Linked DNA regions of Homo sapiens: all the other regions are linked to region 2. Evidence: promoter capture Hi-C in 16 types of primary human blood cells and fetal thymus (Javierre and others, 2016). All regions are on one chromosome and are shown on one strand. The core of a region is centred on a gene start or on the middle of the fragment in contact, and the rest is flanking DNA. Distances in the headings are between cores, read along the strand shown. Region 1 holds the start of LIPT2 (lipoyl(octanoyl) transferase 2). Region 2 holds the start of FAM168A (family with sequence similarity 168 member A). Region 3 overlaps PPME1 (protein phosphatase methylesterase 1).

What was found. The method cuts DNA at HindIII sites, captures the fragments that hold promoters and counts their contacts. A CHiCAGO score of 5 or more calls a contact.
Region 1: a contact is called between the fragment with the promoter of LIPT2 here and the fragment with the promoter of FAM168A in region 2, in 1 of 17 cell types (naive CD8 T cells). The highest score is 6.4, in naive CD8 T cells.
Region 3: a fragment that was not itself captured here is called in contact with the fragment with the promoter of FAM168A in region 2 in 1 of 17 cell types (non-activated CD4 T cells); the score reaches 5.1 in non-activated CD4 T cells.

Annotation. Positions count from the first base shown.
Region 1 is chr11:74,492,250-74,496,923 of GRCh38, forward strand. It overlaps LIPT2 (lipoyl(octanoyl) transferase 2), which reads right to left and starts at 1,475. Exons shown (of 2, transcript NM_001144869.3): 1 at 989-1,475; 2 at 1-115. The coding sequence starts at 1,454. It overlaps LIPT2-AS1 (LIPT2 antisense RNA 1), which reads left to right and starts at 1,131. Exons shown (of 2, transcript NR_171028.1): 1 at 1,131-1,724; 2 at 4,400-4,674. RefSeq lists silencers at 1,241-1,350, 1,461-1,710. The HindIII fragment of the contact is 1,360 bases long and covers 368-1,727 here.
Region 2 is chr11:73,596,149-73,601,102 of GRCh38, forward strand. FAM168A (family with sequence similarity 168 member A) reads right to left here and starts at 1,964. Exons shown (of 8, transcript NM_015159.3): 1 at 1,775-1,964. RefSeq lists an enhancer at 1,298-2,026 and silencers at 1,918-2,047, 2,178-2,407. The HindIII fragment of the contact is 4,267 bases long and covers 1,186-4,954 here.
Region 3 is chr11:74,172,286-74,176,621 of GRCh38, forward strand. The region is part of intron 1 of PPME1 (protein phosphatase methylesterase 1); the gene reads left to right. Among named protein-coding and RNA genes, the nearest start is that of PPME1, 3.2 kb to the left of the region's middle. The HindIII fragment of the contact is 790 bases long and covers 1,957-2,746 here.

The DNA of each region.
Region 1 (4,674 bases), core at 225-2,724, 900 kb after region 2:
GAAGTGACGCCTGTCCCAACCAGTCCACAGGGCACGATGTGCTCAAACCACGTGAGGTCGGTAGAGCAGTTGAGAGCCAGGCCGTGGGATGTGATGTGCCTTCCACAGCGGACTCCTGCAAGGCAAGCCAAAGGGTCTTAGAGTAGATACCCTCCACTCTCCGGGCTTTGGTGTCCCTCTCAGGGCGATGAGAAAACTGGATTAGATCACCGGTTTTCAAATTTTGTTTCTGGAGAAACAAGGGATTGTACTCAGATGGGAAAAGGAAACAAATGAAAGGAAGGGGTGCGTGGCTTCAAGCAGCTGCACTCATCATGAGGATTCCAGGAAATGTCTTTTAACAGATTCCAATACTTAAAAAAAAAAAAGCTTGGGGACAGGCGCAGTGGCTCACGCCTGTAATCCCAGCATTTTGGGAGGCCGAGGCGGGCGGATCACGAGGTCAGGAGATCGTGACCATCCTGGCTAACACGGTGAAACCCCATCTCTACTAAAAATACAAAAAATTAGCCGGGCTGGTGGTGGGCGCCTGTAGCCCCAGCTACTCTGGAGGCTGAGGCAGGAGAATGGCGTGAACCCGGGAGGCGGAGCTTGCAGTGGGCCGAGATTGCGCCACTGCACTCCAGCCTGGGTGACAAAGCGAGACTCTGTCTCAAAAAAAAAAAAAAAAAAAAGTTTGAAAATTAGCACCCTTATTTGCCATGACATTGTCATTCGCAGGACGTAACCTGGCAATTCACTTCTCTTGTCTCTCCCTTAACAGAAATGCGTGTTGGACTAGATGTGAGGAGCCTTCTGCTTCTGAATATACGATATCTGAAAAGGGGCTTAAAAACTCAAACGCAGCGGGTAGCTGTGATTCAAAACCCGCGCTAGATACGCCTCCTCCCGGCCCTCACCTCCGTTGGTCCAGCCCCGTCAGACCCCGCCCCCAGGCCTCAAGCTCCGACCTCGGCTCTCAGGTACCGCCCTGCTCCGCGGCGCTCACCGATCGCGCAGATCTTGCGATCGTCTAGCCAGACGCCAGTGTAGGGCGGGGGCCGCGCGCGGGCGTCCTGCAGGCCCTGGAGCTCGCACAGGCGCACGGCGCACGCCTCCAGCGACGCTACGTGCATGCGCAAGCGCAGGCCGAGACGCCGCAGGTCGAGTACCGGGTGGCAAAGCAGCTGGCCCGGGCCGTGGAAGGTGGCCAGGCCACCGCGGCCTGTGACGCGCACCTCGGCGCCCAAGGCCCGTAGCCGCGCAGTTTCCTCGGGCGTCAGGCCGCCGCGCAGCCCGGCCGTATACACGGGCCCCGCGGGCTCGCAGAGCAGGAGCGCGCCCGCCTCAGTCCCCGACGGGGCCTCAATGCCTGGCTCGGCCTGCAGCCGCCGCAGCCAGCGGTCCTGCAGCCCCAGTAGCTCGGCGTACGGCACCCGACCCAGGCGCACCAACCGAACGGCGGGTTGCCGCATCGTGCCCACCGTTGCGTCCGCGGGGCCCCGCCCTCTCCGTGGGCCTGGGGGCGTGGCCTGAGGGGCGGGGACTCGGGGGCACACCCCGAGCCGCAGCTCCCAGGTGCGTGTTAAAAGCTGGAGGGGGGATATGTGATCCCAGGACCAAAAGCGCGGGGCCAGACTCATCGGTTCATTCAACAACCAGTATTTAGTGCCTGCTGTGTTCTGCAGGCCCTGCCATAGGCGCTTGATACAGCGGTGCATAGCGTATGAGAAAGATCTGTCCTGGTAAGCTTACATTCTTACAGCAGACGATAAGTATTTTAAGTGTTAAGTAAATAAGGTTATTTCACGTATAAGGTGTTAAATGCTATGAAAAGAAAAATAAAACAGGGTAACGTGGTGTGTCCTGTGTTGAGCCCCTGGGGGACGCAAGAGGGAGATTAGCTTGCCTACAAGGTTATTGGTGGAGGTAGGGAGAACTTAAAGATCAGCACCTGTAAGAAAGTGAAGGAAGCAGGAATTTGTAGGCAGAGGAAGAAGTTGGCCTGCAAAACAGTTGCAGCAGAGGCCTTGACCAATCCCAAGGCATGCTTGGAGCCTAGGATGACCCTTCAGAGTAGTTCCACATTAAAGCAAGGGGGCCAGAAACTCTTATCCTTGCATTGACCAGTCATGGATACAGGCTACACCTGGGGAGGAGCTGTGATTTTTTTTTTTTTTTTTTTTTTGGCAAGACTGCTTCCCTCGGTGGAGGGCGGCCCCCAGAGAAGGACTCAGTTGTGTATCATCAGTAACCAACTCCAGAAGCTGAGGGAATGACTGTCTAGGCCCTGAGGGGGTGTCTGGACCACAACATCAGCTATGTTGCAGTTAGAGTATCATTTAAACAAGTCTGAATTCAATGAATTTTTACTGAGGACTTTTCAGACACCATAGGTGTCTGAAAAACATTTCATAAACATAGACATAAAGATCCTAAGCAAATATTAGCAAATCAAATCCAGCAATTTATAAAAGGATTAATACATCATGATGAAGTAGGGTTTATCCCGGGAATGCAAGGTTGGTTTTGCATTCTGAAATCAAACAATGTAATTTACCTTAAAAGAGAAAAGCCTTCATTGGAAGAAATAATAAAAATTTTTTTTAAAGAAAAGCTATGATTATGTTAAAAAATACAGATAAATCTATTGGCAAAAATAAACACCTCTTCTGACCAAAATACTTAGCAATCTAGGAATAGAAGAGAAATTTTCCAGTCTGATGAAGGGTTCAAATTATCAATCAGGGTTTGGACAAGAGAAATCACATATGTACTATTTTAATTAAATGTTTTATTTGAGAAAATTGGACACTCATATGCAGTTGTAAGGAATAATATGGACAGATTATATGTACCCTTTACCCAGCTTCCCCCAATGGAAACACCTTGCAAAACTGTAGTACAATATCACAACCAGGATACTGACATTGATAAAGTCAAGATGCAGAACATTTTCATCACCACAAGGATCCCTCATGTTGCTCTTTGTAGTTACACTGCTTCTTAATTCCTGGCAAACGTCTGTGTTGTATAGATGGAATCATACAGAGTGCAACCTTTTAGAATTTTTTTTTCACTCAGCATAATTATCTGGAGACTCATCCAAGTTGTTGCATGTATCAATAGCGCGTTTCTTTTTATTGATGAGTAGTAGTCCATAGTATGAATGTACCACAGTTTGTTTAGCCATTCACTCACTGAAGAACACCTGGGTTGTTTCCAGTTTTCAGATATTCTGAGTAAAGGTACTGTAAACATTTGTGTACAGGTTTTTGTGTGAACTAAGTTTTCATCTCTCCGGAATAAATGCCCAGGAGTGCAGTTGCTGGGTTGCATGGTAGTTACATGTTTCGTTTTTTAAGAAACTGCCAAAATGCTTTCCAGAGCGGCTGTACCATTTTACATACCCACCACCAGTGTATGAATGATCAAGTTTGTCTGCATCCTCATGAGCATTAGCTTTTATTTTAGCCATTCTAATAGGTGTGTGGTGGTGTCTTATTGTGATTTTAATTTGTATTTCCCTATTGACTAATGATGTAAGACATCTTTTCATGTGCTTATCTTCCATGTGTATATTCCCTTCAGTGAAATGTCTGTTCATGTCTTTTGCCCATTTTCTAATTAATTGTTTTTCGTACTGTTGAGTTTTGAGATATCTTTATATATTCTAGATATTAGCCCTTTGTCAAATATGTGCTTTGTAAACAGTTTCTCACAGTGTATGGCTTGTATTTTCATCCTCTTAACCGTATCTTTTGCAGAGCAAAAGTTTGTCATTGTGATAAGGTCCAATTTATCCACTTTTCCTTTTATTGATGCTTTTGGTTTAATAACTCTTTGCCCAGCCCTAGATCCTGAAGACATTCTACTGCCTATTTTTTTAAAGATTTTTTATTTTACATTTAAGTCTATGATACATTTTGAGTTAATTTTTTATTTATTATTATTATACTTTAAGTTTTAGGGTACATGTGCACAATGTGCAGGTTAGTTACATATGTATACATGTGCCATGCTGGTGTGCTGCACCCATTAACTCGTCATTTAGCATTAGGTATATCTCCTAATGCTATCCCTCCCCCCCCCCACAAAATTGACAAATGGGATCTAGTTAAACTAAAGAGCTTCTGCACAGCAAAAGAAACTACCATCAGAGTGAACAGGCAACCTACAAAATGGGAGTTAATTTTTAAAATAGGTGTAAAACTTTGGTTGTTGTTGCGGTTGTTCTTTTTTGTTTGTTTGCATATACATGTTACATTACGCCAACACCATTTGTTCAAAAGGCTATGTTTCCTCCATTGAATTGCTTTTATGCCTTTGTCAAAACCAGTTGGACATATTCGTGTGATCCTATTTCCAGTTTCTGTATTCTGTTCCATTGATCTATGTGTTTATTCCTCTACCAATACAGGCTGAGCATCCGTAATATAAAAATCTGAAATCTGAAATGCTCCAAAATCCTAAACTTTTTGAGTGCTGACATTATGCCACAAATGGAAAATTTCATACCTGACCTTATGTGAGTTGCAGTCAAAACACAGGTGCACAACACCCAGTTCATGCAACATCCCCAGTGGGAAAAAAGACCCCCCCAGCTCTCTTCTGCTGCAGTTTTTCTGCTCACACCTGGATTTCCCCATGCATTCCCACAAAAAGTAATTAAATGGCATGCGTGCAGGCTGGACA
Region 2 (4,954 bases), core at 714-3,213:
TACCTACAAAATAAATTCAGTCTCATATTTTTCAGGCTCACTCATTAGTTCTCAAGCAAGGAATGCACCCTTAACAATCTCAAGCTCATCAAATCTATTTAAATTTCAAAATGCCTGGCTAGTTTTTAAATACACCAGGAGGAGAGGGGAAAAGAAAAGGCAGAGACATCATATAGAAAGATATCCATTACATTCCAGTTTATCTTCTCCCACCTTTAGTTTGGAAGTATGCTTTTTTCCCCCAACTTACTTTTTATGATATACAAATAACAGAAGACACCCTCCCCTCCTTAATTCTACCTTAACTAAATCCCCTTTCAACTTTACCCTTTGGGCTGACTTGACTTCCAAATTTTACTAATATAAATAAAACAAACAAAAACATCACCCGAACAGATTAAAATGGCCCCTAAGAATGAGAAGGTCTCTTCCGTGTCCCCTGCAAAGTCCCCTCTAACAGCCTTACTGCCTCTCACCCAACCACAGCCACCAAGGCTGTTCATTTAAGTATTCCAACCCTTAACCCTCATGTGTCTCTTGGAGGCCACCCCAATCCTTCACCACCAAAATAATCCAACCCAATTCCCCCCTGCTCTCCAGCACAGCTCACTGTCCCTCTCCATCCTCTCTGCCCCATCCATACCAACAGCTCCAGGTCTCCCATTCCTTAAATTTCCCCTGTGCCACCTCACCATCAGCAACCACCTCCCCAGGCCTACCAGCTCATCTCCGAAAGTCCTTCTCCAAAACTCCCTCTGCCACCTTGGCCAAGGGATATTTTCTTCAAGATACCATCCCCCAACTTTGCTCACCCCTGCCGCTATCCTTTCAATGAAAGCAGCCCAGTGATGTTTTATGTGCCCTCTGCCTTGACTCTGCAACCAAGGAGCCACCATGCCCTTTCCAGTGATTGTAAGATCACCCTAAATCCAACCCACTGTGCCCCACACTCCATTTCCATCCCTGTCCTCCCATTTCGGGCCTGACTTCCAATGTGGCCCCTTCCTGCCAGCTCACCATCACACTCCCCTCACTGAATGTCCCACCTCCACCAACTCCTATTCCAACCTCCATCAGCCCACCCCAGGAAACCCCCAAATTGCACTCTTCTGCTCTATCCTAACCCATGCTATTCCATAAGTCTCCACAAATTCCACCAGCCCCAGATGACAAACACCCACTTCAAGCTTGGGTCTCAACCCATGCCAAGCCCCTCACCCCCAACTCCTGCCACCTCCATCATCCTGCCCCAGGTCCACCCCAAATTCCACCCTTCTGAATTAACACTACGCAGGGCCCTAACCAACCCTGTACATGCCACTCACTCTCCGTTGAAATCATTCCCCTGCCCCTCACCCCAGCTCAGATCCCAAGCTGTCAACTGCTCCAGGCCAAACCCAAATCACCACCCTCATTCAGTCCCCTCCCCCATTAAAAGCCATCCCACCCTAGTCTCATCTTCCACCTCGCCCCAAGACCATCCCGAATTCCAACCCGACGCCCCCACCCCACTCTCCTGTCCCAGGTTGGGTTATTCTCCATCAAAAGTCCTCCTCCCTTGTCGCCCGCCCCCCAACCTGCTTGGGTCCCACCCTCACCCCACCCCCGGCCAGCGCCTGGACAAGTCTCCCCCGCCAGCCCGCCGTTCCATCGCGACCTCAACCCCCTCCCCCCAACCTGCACGGGGGCTCCGCAGCCTCCCCTCTCATTCTCGCCAGCGCCACCGGCCCAGACTCAGGACCAGCGGACCCTGTGGCGGGGGGAGTCTCCTCACCGGTGAGCAGCTGCAGGCGAAAACGGCGGCGGCGGCGGCTGAGGCGGCGATGCCCTTGTCTTCTCCGGAGGCTACGGCGGCGACGCTCTCGCCCGTGTCCAGTAGGGTGGCGGATGGCGCGCGGGGACCGGAGCCTCCTCCTCAGCGACTCGGCTCTGAATCCTCTGCAGTAGCCGCCGAGGAGCCCGACGGGTGGGGGGAGGGGACGCTCGGCTGCGGGCGAGGGAGGAGGAGGCGGAGGGAGGAGGCGGGGGACCGCTCAGAAGGGCAGGGAAGGAGGAGCCGGCGCGGCGCCGCGACACGTCCCACAGCCTCAGAGCGCCGGGACCACAACTCCCGGCATGCCCTGCTTTAGCCCGCGCGCGGCCTGCGCCTCCCGCCGCGAGCCCGGTGCAGAGGGGCCGCGCCCTCTCCGGTCACGGACAGTGGAATAAAGCCAACCATCCGCTGGCGAATTTTGTAGACTCAAAGACCACCTGTGAGGAAAGTCAGGTCGCCCGAGGCCCCATCCCCAAGGGGCCGTACTCGCAGCGTCTCCATCCTCTTTGCATAGACACCCCCCTCCCCCCGCCCACACACACACACACACTCTCTGTCTCTCCCTCTCTCCCTCTCTCCCTCTCTCCCTCTCCCTCTCGTCTCTGTCTCTGGACTACACCTCCCAGCATGCCCCTCAGCTTCCTATTCTCCTTCCGGACCCTTCTCAGACCCGGTACTACAGTTCCCAGGGAGTGTGGTCCCTGCGAAATGCTGGGAGATGGAGTTCTCGGTTCTTCCTCCATGTTAAGAAAAAGAAGTGAAAGAGAGGCAAAAGGGAAGGAATACGCCAGCCCACCGAGGATGGGCCTTGATGGGCTAGATCACCTGTGATTCTGTTCATCCCTCGCCATCTCCGTTTCAGCTGTCTCTCACCAGAACTAATGCCGGAGCTTCCTCGCTGGTCTCCCTGCAAATTTGAGGACGATTCGGCAACTTGAATCCAAACGACAAAGGGCATATCCTCTTCTTGACCCAGCTCCATTACTTTTAAGAATTTACCTTAAAAAGATGATCGAACAATTTCGAAAAGATGAATGCACAAAGTTGTTATATGACGTAGTTAATTATGAAGGGAGTAAATGTTCATCGATAGGGTGCTGCTTAAATAAGACGTGACATATACATACAATGCAATACTAAGGAGCCATTTAAAATGATATAAATCTATTGACATGAAAAGCTATTCACAATTTATTCTTCGGGGAAAAAGTTGATTACACAACAGCATGTCTACACGAGTGCATTTATGTGAGGTTTGACACAATATTCTACAAGCATGGAGAGATTTCAGGAAAGAGGTTCGCCAAAATATTAGCAATGATTATCTTGGGGGAAAGGGTGTCAGATTGCACGTAGGTTTTTTTTGTTTTTTGAGACGGAGTCTGGATCTATAGCCAGGCTGGAGTAAAGTGGGGGCGATCGCAGGTCACTGCAACCTCTGCCTCCCGGGTTCAAGCGATTCTCCTGCCTCAGCCTCCTGAGTAGCTGGGACTACAGGCGCGCGCCACCACATCCAGCTAATTTTTGTATTTTTAGTAGAGATGGGGTTTCACTATATTGGCCAGGATGGTCTCGATTTCTTGACCTCCTGACCTGCCCGCCTCAGCCTCCCAAAGTGCTGGGATTACAGGCATGAGCCACAATGCCCGACTGTAATTTTTGTTTTCATATTGTTTGAATTGTTTAAAAGGAGCACATAACGACTGTTTTTTGTTTTCTTTTTTGTTTTGTTTTAATTGTAAGAGACGTCGTCTCACTATATTGCCCAGGCTGGTTTCAAACTCCTGGCCTCAAGAGACCCTCCTGCCTCAGCTCTCAAAAGTGCTGGGATTACAGGTGTGAGCCACACTACACCTGGACAATTTTTTAAGCTGTGCTACTTCCAAAAAACATAATTTCCAAATCTAACAACCTTTCTTTGCTGCCTAGATGCTTTCCATGGCTTCCCATTGTCTCATTCATGCTTCAGCACTGTGCCTGCCTGGTTTTAATAGTTCCACTATTAAAACAAATAATAGTAGTCACTTCCAATTCATAAAGTTGGAAGGGAGAATTTTCTCAATTTTCAATGCGTCTTCTCAAAATTTTTCCATTTCTGGTCTTTCCACACCCATTTTCTCCTTTTCTCTTACTCATTCTTCAAACTCAAGCCAAAGTCCTACCTTCCCTAGAACATATTTTAGACACACTGGTTTTCCTTATATCTGAATTCTTTTTTGTTTGTTTGTTTGTTTGTTTGTTTGTTTGAGACAGAGTCTTGCTCTGTCAGCCAGGCTGGAGTACAGTGGTGCAATCTCGGCTCACTGCAACCTCCGTCTCCCGGGCTCAAGCAATTCTCCTGCCTCATCCTTCCGAGTAGCTGGGATTACAGGCATGTGCCACCATGCCTGGCTAATTTTTTTTTGTATTTTTAGTAGAGATGGGGTTTCACCATGTTGGCCAGGCTGGTCTTGAACTCCTGACCTCAGGTAATCCGCCTGCCTCGGCCTCCCAAAGTGCTGGGATTACAGGCGTGAGCCACCGCTCCCGGCTTATCTGAATTCTTATAGCAGTGGTTTCTAATCTGTTGGCCAGAGATCACGGTGGGGAGAGGAAGTGAAGAGAGAGGTACAGAGTTATTGTAAAGGGCCTATGCAGCTCTGCCTACACAAAGCTATATGTCTTGCACTTTAAAAAAGTTTTTCTCTTCTTCTGACCCTTGTGTCCAGCTCTTCTAGAATACAGAATGTAGTATCAGATTATTTTTGATTTCACGATTTTTTTCATTTAAGCCCTGTTTGACTTGATATTTTCTTCTCTTTTTTCATTTTTTGAGACAGAGTCTCGCTCTGTCGCCCAGGCTGGAGTTCAGTGGCATGATCACAGCTCACTGCCGCAGCGACTCCCTGGGCTCATGTGATCCTCCCACCTCAGCCTCCCAAGTAGCGGGGACTACAGGCACCACCATGCCCGGCTAATTTTTCTTTTTTCTTTTTTTTTCTTATAGAGACAGGGTTTCGCCATGTTGCCCAAGGTGGTCTCAAAGTCCTGGACTCAAGTGATCTGCCCACCTCGGCCTCCCAAAGTACTGAGATTACAGGCATGAGCCACTGCGCCCAGCAGAATTTGATATTTTCAATTTTATATGCCATTGTTCCTTGG
Region 3 (4,336 bases), core at 1,102-3,601, 580 kb after region 2:
GGACAGGATAAGGGAGAGAGAAGAAGGAGAGAACTGAAGAATTTACAGAGTGACCATAGGCTCTAAAGATTGAGAGATGACTATAAATACGGTTTGGTGAATGGAAGTGCTGCAGTTGTAAGGTCTGGGAAGCTTAGAGGAAGATTTGGGCAATCAGTTTTTGCTGGGCTAGTAGATCTGAGGGAAGCGACGTACTGGCCTAAGACTTTGAATTAGTGAAGCATTGGGAGTTCGAGAAATAGTTTGCTGGAAAGGAAGGAGAGCCATGTAGAAGAGATAGGTTTTGGAATTTTAGATCGTTAAATGGCTTGTGCCAGGTTAGGGGATACTTGGGCCGAGGAGAAAGAATGAGGTGAACATGGGAGAAGTAATTGCTGGAAAGTGGAGAGAATTGAATAGGCATTTGGTTTTGAGGGGATATTTGTAGTTTCAAACAGGATTCTGGGAATTAGTGACTGTAAAGAGAAAAGGAGTAGGAAAGATACTTAGGTATGAGGGCTCCAGAGTATATTTGGGATTCTAGAGATGAATTGGTAGATATTCTTTGAAAAAGGACTACAGAAGAGAAACCTTAGGTTCTGAAGAAGTAATATGTGTAAAAACTTATCAAAAAGGAGGCGAGAGTAGGAGATGCAGTACTGTGACAGTAAGTCCTAGGGATGAAAAGAAAGGAGAATCCTATAAAACAGTGGGGTAAAGGAATGGGAAAAATGGGTGGAAAAACCAGGGAAGGAAACTAAGAATTGAGTGGAGACCTGCTATGATACGCAGTAGAAAAATGAGAAAACTTTAGCAGGAGGAGATAGAGAGATAGACGCACAATAGAGGTAGAAGGCTACATAGAAGGTAAAGTGAAGATTGTTTTGGCTTTGGAAGACAGAAAAGTTGGACTATAACATGAATAAAGAGAATTTGGAAACTGACCCATAACATTATTTGGGAAAACTAACCTGGAGTTTAATATTAATGTAACATTAATTGTTGTTAAATATCTTAGTTGCTGCCTTTCTTAAAATAAATTTGATTTTTCAGTATACCAGCACCCTTCTATACAAATACATAAGAAAATCAGATTTTTAATAATTATACATTCCTTAGATAAGCTTAATTAGAGCTCAGCTTCTCATCTTGGAGAAACAAGTTCTCTGAAGATTGAAGAACTGAATGAAGATACTGAGAGAAAAAAAAAGGAAAATCTGCTGATTAGAAGATTGTATAATTGTTAGTAATTTATCGTTTTTATTTTTTATTACTTTTCATTTTATTTTTTTTTAGAGACAGAGTCTCACTCTGTTGCCCAGGCTAGAGTGCAGTGGCACAATCTCGGCTCACTGCAACTTCCACCTCCCGGGCTCAAGTGATTCTTGTGCCTCAGCCTCCCAAGTAGCTGGGATTACAGGCATGCACCACCACGCCCGGCTAATTTTTGTATTTTTAGTAGAGAGGGGATTTCGCCATGTTGGCCAGGCTGGTCTTAAACTCCTGGCCTTAAGTGATCTGCCCCACTTGGCTTCCCAAAGTACTGGGATTATAGGAGTGAGCTACTGTGCCTGGACAACTTACCTTTTTAAAAAGATGCTTTGGTCTTCTTGGTTTAGGTTAACTGCTTATCCTGGAAAAGAAAGTTCTTTAGAAAGGCCTTTCTTTATGATAGTATTGTGAAGAGAAGAGCATATATTGGCGAATATTTGTGTGGTCCTCAAATGGCTTATTTTCCCGTATCTTTCTTTTCTACTTTATTGGTATATAAGCAGGCTTCATCTAAGTCTCATGGTAGTAATAATATAGATTCTCTTTCTCCTTAGAATCATAAAGCTGAGAGAAAGCATAGACATGGTCTCATTTCACCACTTCATGTAGTTGAGGAACCCAATATTCAGAGAGTTCTGTATTCTATAAGGGAATGTATTAATAAATGAGGGAACTGAGACTCAGATATTCCTAAGGTACCCTAGAAGCTTAGCGGTAGGGCCGTTAAGGACTAGGACTTGGGTCTCTTGACTGTGAGACCCATTGTGTATTTTGGAGTCATAATTGTCATCTGGGGATACTTATTTTGAGTTGTGTATCTTACTCATTTGCATATAATCTAGGATTCAGTCTTTTTCTTCAGTCGTAATTTATGAAGTCTCACACCAATTTCAAAGCATTCTTTATGTCTCCTTATGCTTACTTGCTTTTTTCTTAACTTCCATTCTTCCACTCTATCTATGTTACTCACAAGTTAGTCCTGTTCTCTTGATAGTCTCTTGTGTGGCTTACTCTTAACTATTTTTCATGATCTCTTGCCTTCAATTTCACTAAACATTATTTAGGCATGTTTGCATATTCAGGGTGCATATTCTGAGTTGGTGATTTTTCATGAGTTTCCATAATTCAGTTTTTCAGATTAGATTTAGTAATTCCAAAGTATTGTTGGATAATTTAATAATAGCAATTTTTAAAGTAAGTACTGTGTGCCAGACATTGTAATGGTAACTTTATGTTATTTAATGTGTCCACAGACCTGCATGGTGAATATTTTCCTGCATTGTGGGTAAAGACATTCAGACCCAGAGATTAAAAGTAACCCAACTAGTAGGTAGCAGAGCTAGGATTCAATCTAAGTTTAGTCTCTAGAATCCATTCACTTTTCAGTACACTAATATTTTCTCTTGGGTAAGGCCTGAAATCCTGGTGTCACTCTTCCTTTTAATAGATGCCAATGGATGTTGCCAAAAACAGTGGTTTTGAACTTCTTTATTAAAGCTTTTAGAGCTACTCTGACTAAAGTAGATTTGAGATCCCTATTTGCTTTGCACCCCTGGTGTGCTTGAGAGAAGTATCTTTTGAAAGTCACTGCTTTCGTATATACTATTACTATTAGAGGAACTATAAAATATTAAAGCCATTCATTATTCAACGTGTTTTTGGTTTATCAGTAGTTGTACTTTTTGGCCAGGTGTGGTGGCTCATGCCTGTAATCTCAGCACTTTGGGAGGCCGAGGCGGGTGGATCACCTGAGGTCGGGAGTTCAAGACCAGCCTGACCAACATAGAAAAACACCGTCTCTCCTAAAAATACAAAATTAGCTGGCGTGGTGGCACATGCCTGTAATCCCAGCTACTCAGGAGGCTGAGGCAGGAGAATCACTTGAACCTGGGAGGCGGAGGTTGTGGTGAGCCGAGATCGCGCCATTGCACTCCAGCCAGGGCAACAAGAGCGAAACTCCATCTCAAAAAAAAAAAAGTTCTACTTTTCTATTATTATCTCTTAAATTCCTTTTTTTTTCTTTTGCAAGAGATAGAGTCTTGCTGTGTTGCCCAGGCTGAAGTACAGTGGCTTTTCACAGGCATAATCTTGGTGCATTACAACCTCAAACTCGTGGGCTCAAGCAGTCTTCCCACTTCATCCTCTTGAGTAGGTAGGACTGAGGATACATGCTAGCATGCCCAGCTCTGTAGTGATTTAACTGACATGTATATAGTAGTCCCTTTTTATATTCTATGAGGTAAACTAGGGCAGGAGTTAATATTTTCTTTTAATAAATGAGAAAACTGAAATGTTCATTGACTTGCCTAAGATCACAGAATCATTATGTGGCAGGAACAACATTCAAACCCAGGACTTCGTATTTTTAGTCCATTGTTCTTTCTATAGCTTGCATTGAAGGGTTTGATATTTGAAGTGACAAAGATCTAAGTTTGAAGCCCAACTTAGGTATTTACATTGGTCGAGTCATTTAACTTCTCATAGTCTATTTTCTTATCTCTAAAATGAGAATACTTCTGCTTACCTGAGAGTGCTGTGAGAATAAGATAATACATAAAAAGCACTTATAGTTCCTGACACTGACACATAAGCTCTTAAAGAATGATAGCTAGTAGATAATTATACATTGAGAACTGTGAAGAAGGTTCATAGTTTATGTGGAAGCTCTCCTTTCAGTTTCTTATGTTATCAGCTTTTTTGTCCCCACAAGCTGTATGTTTATTCATATCTGATTAGATAGTCTTTCATCCATCTTCTTAAATTTATTATGGATATCAGGCCTCTTAGGAAGGCTTTAATGAGCTATTCACACAGATGGGGAAATAAAGGGCAAAGTGAAGTGATTTGCTCAAGGTCACAAATTGAGTTACTAAAATAATCAAATCCCAGTATTTCTGTTTTTTTTTTTATTTTTTCATTAGATTTTTAAAAAGTTAAATTTATATGCCATAGAATTCACTCTTTTAAATGTACAATTCAGTGATTTTTGGTATATTCACTCAGTTGTACAATTACCACCACTAATTGCAGAACATTTTCATCCTCCCATAAACTCGTTACTCATTAGCATCTTCCCTTCCTCCCA